Linked DNA regions of Homo sapiens: regions 2 and 3 are each linked to region 1. Evidence: promoter capture Hi-C in 16 types of primary human blood cells and fetal thymus (Javierre and others, 2016). All regions are on one chromosome and are shown on one strand. Each heading gives the region's core, a stretch centred on a gene start or on the middle of the fragment in contact. The rest is flanking DNA. Distances are from core to core; before and after follow the strand shown.

Region 1 (2,763 bases), core at 255-2,754:
CTTCATTCTCTGAAGTTGCCTAGAGCACCATCACAGCTAGGAAGCTTCCATCATGAATTACCTTATTTCCAAAAGCAAGTACTCAAATAATTGTCTCAAGAGAGGAAGGACAAAACTGTTACAAGCTGAAATATTTGGGGATTTGTTTGACTTGACTAGGGAACCACAAGTTTTCATATAATGCCTGATTTAGCCCTGTGCCTAACAGTTTAAATCTTAATGCTAATGTTAATTGCTTCCCAGTTGGTTGACCTTATAAGAAAACACTGTGTGGTATTTTAATGTGGTAAACATGTGAATGAAGGCCTGTGGCTCAGTTAATCACTCCCACAACTTTGAGCTGTGAGTTTTACTGGTGGAAGGAACTTTAACAGGTCTTCGCTCTTGTCATTAGATATCAAAGAACTGAAATTAGTTGGAATTGTAAGCAGTGAATAGATGTGTTGTTAGAATGATTCCATCACTTATACATTGTTTAAAATGCTAATAAAGTAACTTGCTTTGTAAGAATTCATTAGAGTGGACTTTTGTTATCTCCATTGTGCATTTGATAAAACTGAGGCTTAGAGAGGTAAGAGATTAGCTTTTAAGTCAGTAATTGGCAGCCGAGACAGCAACCCTAGGTCTGTTACATTCAAAAGCCTCTGAGCCACTCCGCATGACTTCCCATTCATTCGTGTTTGCTGCTGCTACTCTGGGAAACACCATCTTCCTCTTCCCCTCCACTCAGAAATTTAGCCCTAGATTAGCAGCGGTCTCTGCTCCCTCATGTTGAGAAAGGCCTGTTGTGCTGTCCGTGGGCAGAAGGGACCCCTTCAGAAAGCTATTCCTTATTGGGAATAGCGGCTTGAGATTTTGACTGCACGAATATTGCAGGACCTAATTTTAGTATTTAAGTTTTAGTTCTTAAATTCTTAAGTTTAGAGTTAGATACTCCAATACGGCCGTTTTCCAAAATACCGAGAGGGAATTAAATGAACATTTTTACATTAAGAATTTAATGTATTTCTGGGTGATGGGAAAATGAAAAAAACAATGTAAAGTCTGAATTACTGCGAGACGATAATCTGGCTCCACTGCAGCCAAAGTGGGCCCTTAAAACATAGAATCCATCCCTCCCAGCTCTGCCGGCCGTCTGTGCCTGCCCCCCACGTGTCCCACGTTCTGCACACCTGTAAATCTTGGGATGTAATCCCTTGCTCAGCGTCGGTCCGCCCTACTGTCGGCCAGCGCTCGGGGAAGGGGCGGGATTTGCAGTTGCGGGAATCCCAATTACTGTGTTCGCTGCTCAGGGCTCCTCATTCCCCTTTAGAGTAAAGGGCGAGGGCAACAGTGGACGGGGTGTCTCCAGACATCCCCCTCATTACCGTGGCCGCGGAAGCCGACTCGGCAGTTGCCGCCGCGGCTGTGGTGACTACCAGACGGGCCATAGGCGTGCGCACGCGCACCCGCACCGGCGCGCCGGCCGTCGGTCACGTGGCCTCCGGCCAGGGCTTGCGAAGCCGGAAGTGTCCTGAGTCTCGAGGAGGCCGCGGGAGCCCGCCGGCGGTGGCGCGGCGGAGACCCGGCTGGGTAAGTGAGACGGCCGCGGGCTGAGGGGCCAAGGCGGCGCGGGGCGCGGTCGGTCAGGCCTGCGCCGCCCGGCGGGGAGCGCTCCCGCCCCCTGTGGGAGGCTGGGATGCTGAGTCAGAGCGGGGGCGGGGGCGGGCGCACCGAGAAGCCCCGGACGACCCGAGGCCAAGCCATCCAGGACCCCGGCTGCGTGGACACTGCCTCTGGGGTGTGTGTCGGGTGGCCGTAGCCGGTGGAATGGTCGCGCGGGCCCTGTTACCTGCATCCCCGCTCCGCGCCGCGCGGCCGGTCCTCGACCTGCATCCCGTCCGGCGGCTTTGGGCATAAAGAGGACGACTCCGTTACCGGGCCTGGGCCCTGGCTGCCTGGGGAGGCAGGGGCACCTCTTTCCCTTAGACTCGCTGTTTTCTACCCTCTTTCCGAGCGTCGACACAACGGGCAGTTTTTAAATGTATTGATTTTTCAGAGGATTAAAAAGAGACGTTTCCTTAGAGTTTTAGTGATGTTCAGTCCGCAGAGGTTGACTCACACCGGAAATTAGAAGCATAAGATGTTTTAAATATATGCCGATGAAATACGAATTCCCAGACATTTCCTTGCTCCTCGTCTACCTGGCTTATGGGTTTAATTTGTAATCTCTATCCCAAGTATTCTTAGTAGGTGGCCTCAAAACAACTCCCAAGTAATTGCCAAATGTATAACCAAAGACTGGTCTTTTCCACTCTGAAACCCCAGTGTATGAATCACATAGGGGCAGAGTTTAGAAATCCTGGAACTTTGTCCATAGGCCATGTCGTCAAACCTGTTTTCATCCCTCAACAAATAGTAACTTTCGTTTTGGACGGTGTAAGGAAGTAGGCTGAAGACGGCATCATCAGCAACATAGTTGTTGAGTGTCTGCTTATATGCTTGTCAAAAATTTGGGAAGATTTATATGGCAAGCACGTTGTGGGTGTGCTGAGTCATGTTTTAACATGTTATTGTGGAGTTATTGGAAGATAATTTCAAAAGACATTTCCCCTGACCACTATTGTGATTACTGTTAAATAGAAACCATAGTTTTGTATTTGCATAGAGAACAGATATCTTAGCTGATAAATATTTTTCTTATTATCCTGAAGGTACATACATATAGGTACCTAATGGTACTATTTGCCATTTACAGTTACATTGATTAGGGAAGGTTTTTCG
Region 2 (3,006 bases), core at 147-2,646, 140 kb after region 1:
GCACTTTGGGAGGCCGAGGCAGGCGGATCACGAGGTCAGGAGTTTGAGACCAGTCTGGCCAACATAGTGAAACGCCATCTCTACTAAAAATACAAAAAATTAGCCAGATGTGGTGGTGTGCACCAGTAATCCCAGCTACTCAGGAGGCTGAGGCAGGAGAATTGCATGAACCTGGGAGGCGGAGGTTGCAGTGAGCCGAGATCCCGCCACTGCACTCCAGGCCCGGGCCACAGCATGAGACTCCATCTAAAAAAAAAAAGTCAACCTGAGAGAGAATGATATAACAAACCAATCATGTGCATTTAGCAGTTGTCAAGATTTTGCCACACTTGTTTTGTCCATTCTTTTTTTCTTCCTTTTACTCAAGCAAACCCCAGACATCATGTCATTTCATCAATACATATTTCAAGATATATTTCCTTTTTTATTTTTGAGCAATTTTTGTGTGCGTGCCTCTAAATATTCAGTAGGTTCATTTATTTTGTTTTCAATTTAGGAGTTGCTTTTTCCCACTTTTGGTTAAACTTAGATTTTTAGTTATGTAAACATTCATAGAATTTCAAAATCAGAACTATAAACCTAGATATAGTCACATCAGTTGTGCTTCCATTATGTGTTCTCATCTGTTTCCCTCTATCCCCCTACAAATAACTAATTTTTATTATTCCTTCGGTTGCTGTTTTTTTTTTTTTGAGACAGGGTTTTACTGTGTCCCCTAGGCTAGAGTGCAGTGGCACGATCTTGGCTCATTGCAACCTCTGCTTCCCAGACCCACGAGATCCTCCCACCTCAGCCTCCTGAGTAGCTGGGACTACAGGCGTATGCCACATGCCTGGCTAATTTTTGTAATTTTTGTAAAGAGGAGGTTTCACCATGTTGCCCAGGCTGGTCTTGAACTCCTGGGCTCAAGTGATTTGCCCACCTTAGTTTCCCAAAGTGCTGGGATTACAGGCATGAGCCACCACATCAGCTATTCTGTTGCTTCTTTTAAAAAAATATTTTCTAAATAGCCAGCATACTATGAACACTGTTCTGCACTATTCTTTTTAAATGATTTATCCTGGAGGTTATTCCATATCAGTGTACTGAGAGAGTCCTGATTTCTTTTTAATAGCTACATAATATTCCATTAGCCAATTTGCCTAATTGATGGATATTTAGGTTGTTTCCTTTTTTTGTTACTATAAATAATGGTACAGTCTTAACTTTGACCATGAGGCATTTATATTTTTTTTCAGTGTGTCTTTGATATTGTTTCCTACAAGAGGAAATGCATATGTAATTTTGCTGGATACTATGGGATTAGCCTGTCTTGCAATTGTACCATTTTGCATTCCAAACAACCGTATGTGAGAATGCCTGTTTTTCTGCAACCTCAGTAAGGAAGTTGTCTAACTTTTGTATTTTTACCAAGTTTTTTCTGTTTTGAGATAGGGTCTTGCTCTGTTGCCCAGGCTGATGTACAGTGGTACAATCATAGCTCACTGCAGCCTTGAACTCCTGGGCTCAAGGGATTCTCCTGCCTTAGCCTTTCAAATAACTAGGACTACAGGTGCATGCCAAGATGCCTGGCTAATTTTTATTTTATTTTATTTTATTTTTATTTTTTTGTAGAGACAAGGTCTTGCCAGTCTTGAACTCCTGGCTTCAAGTGATCCTCCTTCCTCCTCCCAAAGTAGTGAGATTACAGGCATGAGCCACTGTGCATGACTGGCGTTTGCTCTTCTCGATGTTTGGGAATGTTCTACAGATTATAGATATTTGCTGTTTATGAAAAAATTTGCAAGTACCTTTTCCTCATTTGTTAATTAGAATTACCTCATTAAAAAAATCAAGGTAGAAGTATAATTTACAAACACATTACATTCACACATTTTAGAGCACAGTGCAAGAAGTATATGTATATAATTGTGTAACCCACCATGACCACAATCAAGATTAGTTCCTGTCATTTGCCTTTGGACTCTGCTTATTGCATTCTATTTTGCCATGAAGTTGTGCTTTGTTTTGGAGACAGAGTCTCACACTCTGTTACCCAGACTGGAGTGCAGTAGAGCTATCTCAGCTCACTGCAACCTCCGCTTCTGGGGTTCAAGCAATTCTCCTGCCTCAGCCTCCCAAGTAGCTGGGACTATAGATACATAACACCATGCCTGGCTAATTTTTGTATTTTTAGTAGAGACAGGGTTTTGCCATGTTGCCCAGCTGGTCTTGAACTCCTGGCCTGAAATTATCTGCCCACCTCAGCCTCCCAAAGTGCTGGGATTACAGGCATGAGCTGTGCCTGGCTGAAGTTGTGTTTTTTTAGCTGCTACATCCATGACTTAATGTAAACAGGTTCTTTCAACAAATATCTCATAATTCTCTTCTGTGTTTTAAACAAACAGATTATATAGGCCTAATGTATATTCTAGCTGGGGATATGAGGACACATTATTATAACTAGTATAAATTAACTTCTTTCTGTTAAAGGAACCTCTAAGGTAAAATTTTGAAATCCTGTAGCAAAGCTGAATAGGATTGCTCCTTTTTATTTGAAGGGTCATGGGGCAAGCAGGCGGATCACCTGAGGTCAGGAGTTCAAGACCAGCCTGGCCAACATGGTGAAAGCCCATCTCTACTAAAAATACAAAAATTAGTCAGGTGTGGTGTCAGGTGCCTGTAATCCCAGCTACTCAGGAGGCTGAGGCAGGAGAATCACTTGAACCCAGGAGACAGAAGTTGCAGTGAGCCTAGATCACACTACAGCACTCCAGCCTGGGCGACAGGGTGAGACTCTGTCTCAAAAAAAAAAAAAAAAAAAAAAAAGCAGGGGAGGGCCATGGCTGGGCGTGGTAGCTCACACCTGTGATCATAACACTTTGGGAGGCCAAGGTGGGAGGATTGTTCAAGCCCAGGAGTTCAAAACCAGCCTGGGCAACGTAGTGAGACCCCATCTCTACAAAAAATTTTAAAAATTAGCCAGGCATGGTGGAATGCACCTGTAGTCCCAGCTACTCAGGAAGC
Region 3 (2,819 bases), core at 27-2,526, 230 kb after region 1:
TGGAGTTAGGGAGGATTAGCAGGCTTTCATTTGCTTCCACATTTTTTTTCAGCAGTTTAATTTACTGAAACTGGCATAATAATGCCTCCTTGATTAGGTTGTTGGGAGAAGTAAAGGCAATACAAGTTTGGTGCCTGGTATACTTCATCAGGGTGACAAAATGCTGTCATTTGGTCATTTGTGATCATGTCTGCTACTGCATAATGTCATGCACTGGTGGGACTCTTTAGACAGCTAATTATTGGTAAATTCTTCACAGTGAGAAGAGGATTTAACCGATATTTCTCCCTCTAGAGTGTGGGGAGGTAGAGAAGTGGGTGAGACTGGAAGGGTGGGAAGGAGAAGTCTGGCTACTTGTATCTTGGCCTGGGGATTTGTTTGGAAGATGAATTATCCTCTGGTAGTTGTGTACAGTTTACAGGTCAGTGATTAGTATGAGTCCGTGAATAGTGCCAGTTAATACTGATTAACTGCTGTACTTTTTGCCAATAAATATTGTAAAGCTATAAAGACAACAGAGTTAATACAAGTTGCTAAAGAGAAACTTGTGGTAAATGTCTTTAAATGTTGTTTAAAATAGAAATGGCCAATCTAGCAGGCATGCTGAGGAAATGATGTTTTTGCAGAAGGGAAATTTAGCAATGACAGTTTTGCAGAATATATTGGTAATGAAGTGTTACTTGTAGCTGCTGACAAATTAGTTTTCTTAAAAAATATATCCCCTAGGAAGACTGTAGTATGAAAGAATGAGAACCGTAATTGGTGGATGAGCCTGGAGAGTTTGAAGGTAAGAGAGAAAGAGAAGCAGCGAGGGAGAGAAGGAGAGAGAGAGAGAGAGAGAGTGAGTGTGTGTGTGTGTGTGTGTGTGTTTCAAGGTAACATGCAAGAACAATAAGGTTCTTCTTGTGTGGTTGTAATTTTTTTTTTTTTTTTTTTGAGACAGGGTCGCACTCTGTCACCCAGGCTAGAGCATAGTGGCATAATTATGGCTCACTACAGCCTCGACCTCTGGGCTGAGGTGATGCTCCCACCTCAGCCTCCTAACTAGCTGCGACTACAGGTGTGCACCACTGTGCCCAGCTAATTTTTGTATTTTTTGTAGAGATAGAGTTTCCTCATGTTGCCCAGCCTGGTCACAATCTCCAGGGCTTAAGCTCTGCCGTCCTTGGCCTCTCAAAGTCCTGGGATTGCAGGCTTCCACCACCGTGCCCGGCCCTTGTGTGGAATTTTTAAAAAATCCTGACTTATCTGTTTGTTTGTTTGTTTGTTTTTTTTTTTTGAGACAGAGTTTTGCTCTTGTTGCCCAGGCTGGAGTGCAATGGCGTGATCTCAGCTTACCACAACCTCTGCCTCTCACGTTCAAAGTGATTCTCCTGCCTCAGCCTCCCAAGTAGCTGGGTTTACAAGCGTGCGCCACCATGCCCAGCTAATTTCGTAATTTTAGTAGAGACAGGGTTTCTCCATTTTGGTCAGGGTGGTATTGAACTCCCAACCTCAGGTGATCCGCCCACCTCAGCCTCCCAAAGTGCTGGGATTACAGGCGTGAGCCACTGCGCCCGGCCTATCCGCACTTTTTTTTATGATTGCTCACATGTGACATGTCTTGTTTTTCTTCTAGGATGTTGAGAAAGAGAAGGAAACCCACAGTTACCTCAGCAAAGAGGAGATCAAAGAGAAAGTTCATAAATACAACTTAGCAGTCACAGACAAGTTGAAGATGACCTTGGTAAGCACTCAAAATACTATTTAGGTTGACACCTGTCAAAAGACAAATATAAATTGTTGGTACTACAATCTATAGTTCTAAATATCTGAATAGCATTTGTAGAAGTGTAGTAGTCAAGGTATACAGAACAGGAAAGTGGAATATTTCTGTGGCTTTCCATTTAAATCTGTATTGTGAAGTAGCTTTGTCTCAAAAATCAGTTGCTGGGTTAACCTTAAAAAAGTGAAACACTTATAATTTTATTTTAAAAGATTTTGTGACCCACCCCTCCCTCCTCAAAGGATTTTTAGCATCATTGCCTAACATACAGAAATGGTGACTCAGATTCTAAGAAGACCTCAGGTAAGGTTTTTTGTTTTGTTTTGTTTTGAAACAAGGTTTTGCTCTGTCACCTGGGCTGGAGAGCAGTGGCACGATCACCGCTCACTGCAGCCTCGACCTCCGGGCTCAAGTAATCCTCCCACCTCAGCCTCCCGAGTAGCTGGGACCACAGGTGCTTGCCACCATGCCCAGCTAATTTTTGTATTTTTTGTAGAGACGGGGTTTTGCCATATCACCCAGGCTCATCTCAAATTCCTTGGCTCAAGGGATCTGCCCAGCTTGGCCTCCCAAAGTGCTGGGATTACAGGTATCAGAAGCCCCTAAGTTTTTGTCTTGTACAAAATAAATATGGAAGTGTCAGGGAAAGGATTTTGAGCCCATGGATTGGAATATAGAGGTATATAATAGGATAGTTTTCTCTGCCGGTCGTTAGTGTAAGACAAGGTACTTAATACTCAGTTTCTTCCACGTCGCTGTCGCAGGCTTCCACAGCATTGTGCCACACTGAAGCATGCAGGGAGTCGGCGTACAGGAGGGAGAAGCCTCAGGGCCTGGGGATAGGGAAACGAGCTGACAGCGGAGCTAGAGTATTCATGTTCCTCTAAACTTAGCTGGCATCTAGGTCTCGCCTACCCATTGGGTGGCCCGCCTTCTTCATGGCACTTGTCAGCCCTTGGCGCCAGTTTCCAGGGCACTTGGATCCCCGTCTCTCAGTCTGTTTACTGTGAACTGACAGAGTTTGGTAAAGGACAAGGTGATTGGTTTAAAACAG

The links. The method cuts DNA at HindIII sites, captures the fragments that hold promoters and counts their contacts. A CHiCAGO score of 5 or more calls a contact.
Region 2: a fragment that was not itself captured here is called in contact with the fragment with the promoter of TBK1 in region 1 in 1 of 17 cell types (non-activated CD4 T cells); the score reaches 5.2 in non-activated CD4 T cells.
Region 3: a fragment that was not itself captured here is called in contact with the fragment with the promoter of TBK1 in region 1 in 5 of 17 cell types (activated CD4 T cells, total CD4 T cells, non-activated CD4 T cells and 2 more); the score reaches 9.7 in activated CD4 T cells.

Annotation. Positions count from the first base shown.
Region 1 is chr12:64,450,616-64,453,378 of GRCh38, forward strand. It overlaps TBK1 (TANK binding kinase 1), which reads left to right and starts at 1,505. Exons shown (of 21, transcript NM_013254.4): 1 at 1,505-1,572. It overlaps XPOT (exportin for tRNA), which reads left to right. Exons shown (of 25, transcript NM_007235.6): 25 at 1-510. RefSeq lists a silencer at 1,376-1,845. The HindIII fragment of the contact is 9,573 bases long and covers 43-2,763 here.
Region 2 is chr12:64,591,228-64,594,233 of GRCh38, forward strand. It overlaps a transcript of RASSF3 not described here. Among named protein-coding and RNA genes, the nearest start is that of RASSF3-DT, 17 kb to the right of the region's middle. The HindIII fragment of the contact is 6,136 bases long and covers 1-3,006 here.
Region 3 is chr12:64,683,169-64,685,987 of GRCh38, forward strand. RASSF3 (Ras association domain family member 3) reads left to right here. Exons shown (of 5, transcript NM_178169.4): 2 at 1,619-1,726. Among named protein-coding and RNA genes, the nearest start is that of MIR548Z, 62 kb to the left of the region's middle. The HindIII fragment of the contact is 6,808 bases long and covers 1-2,819 here.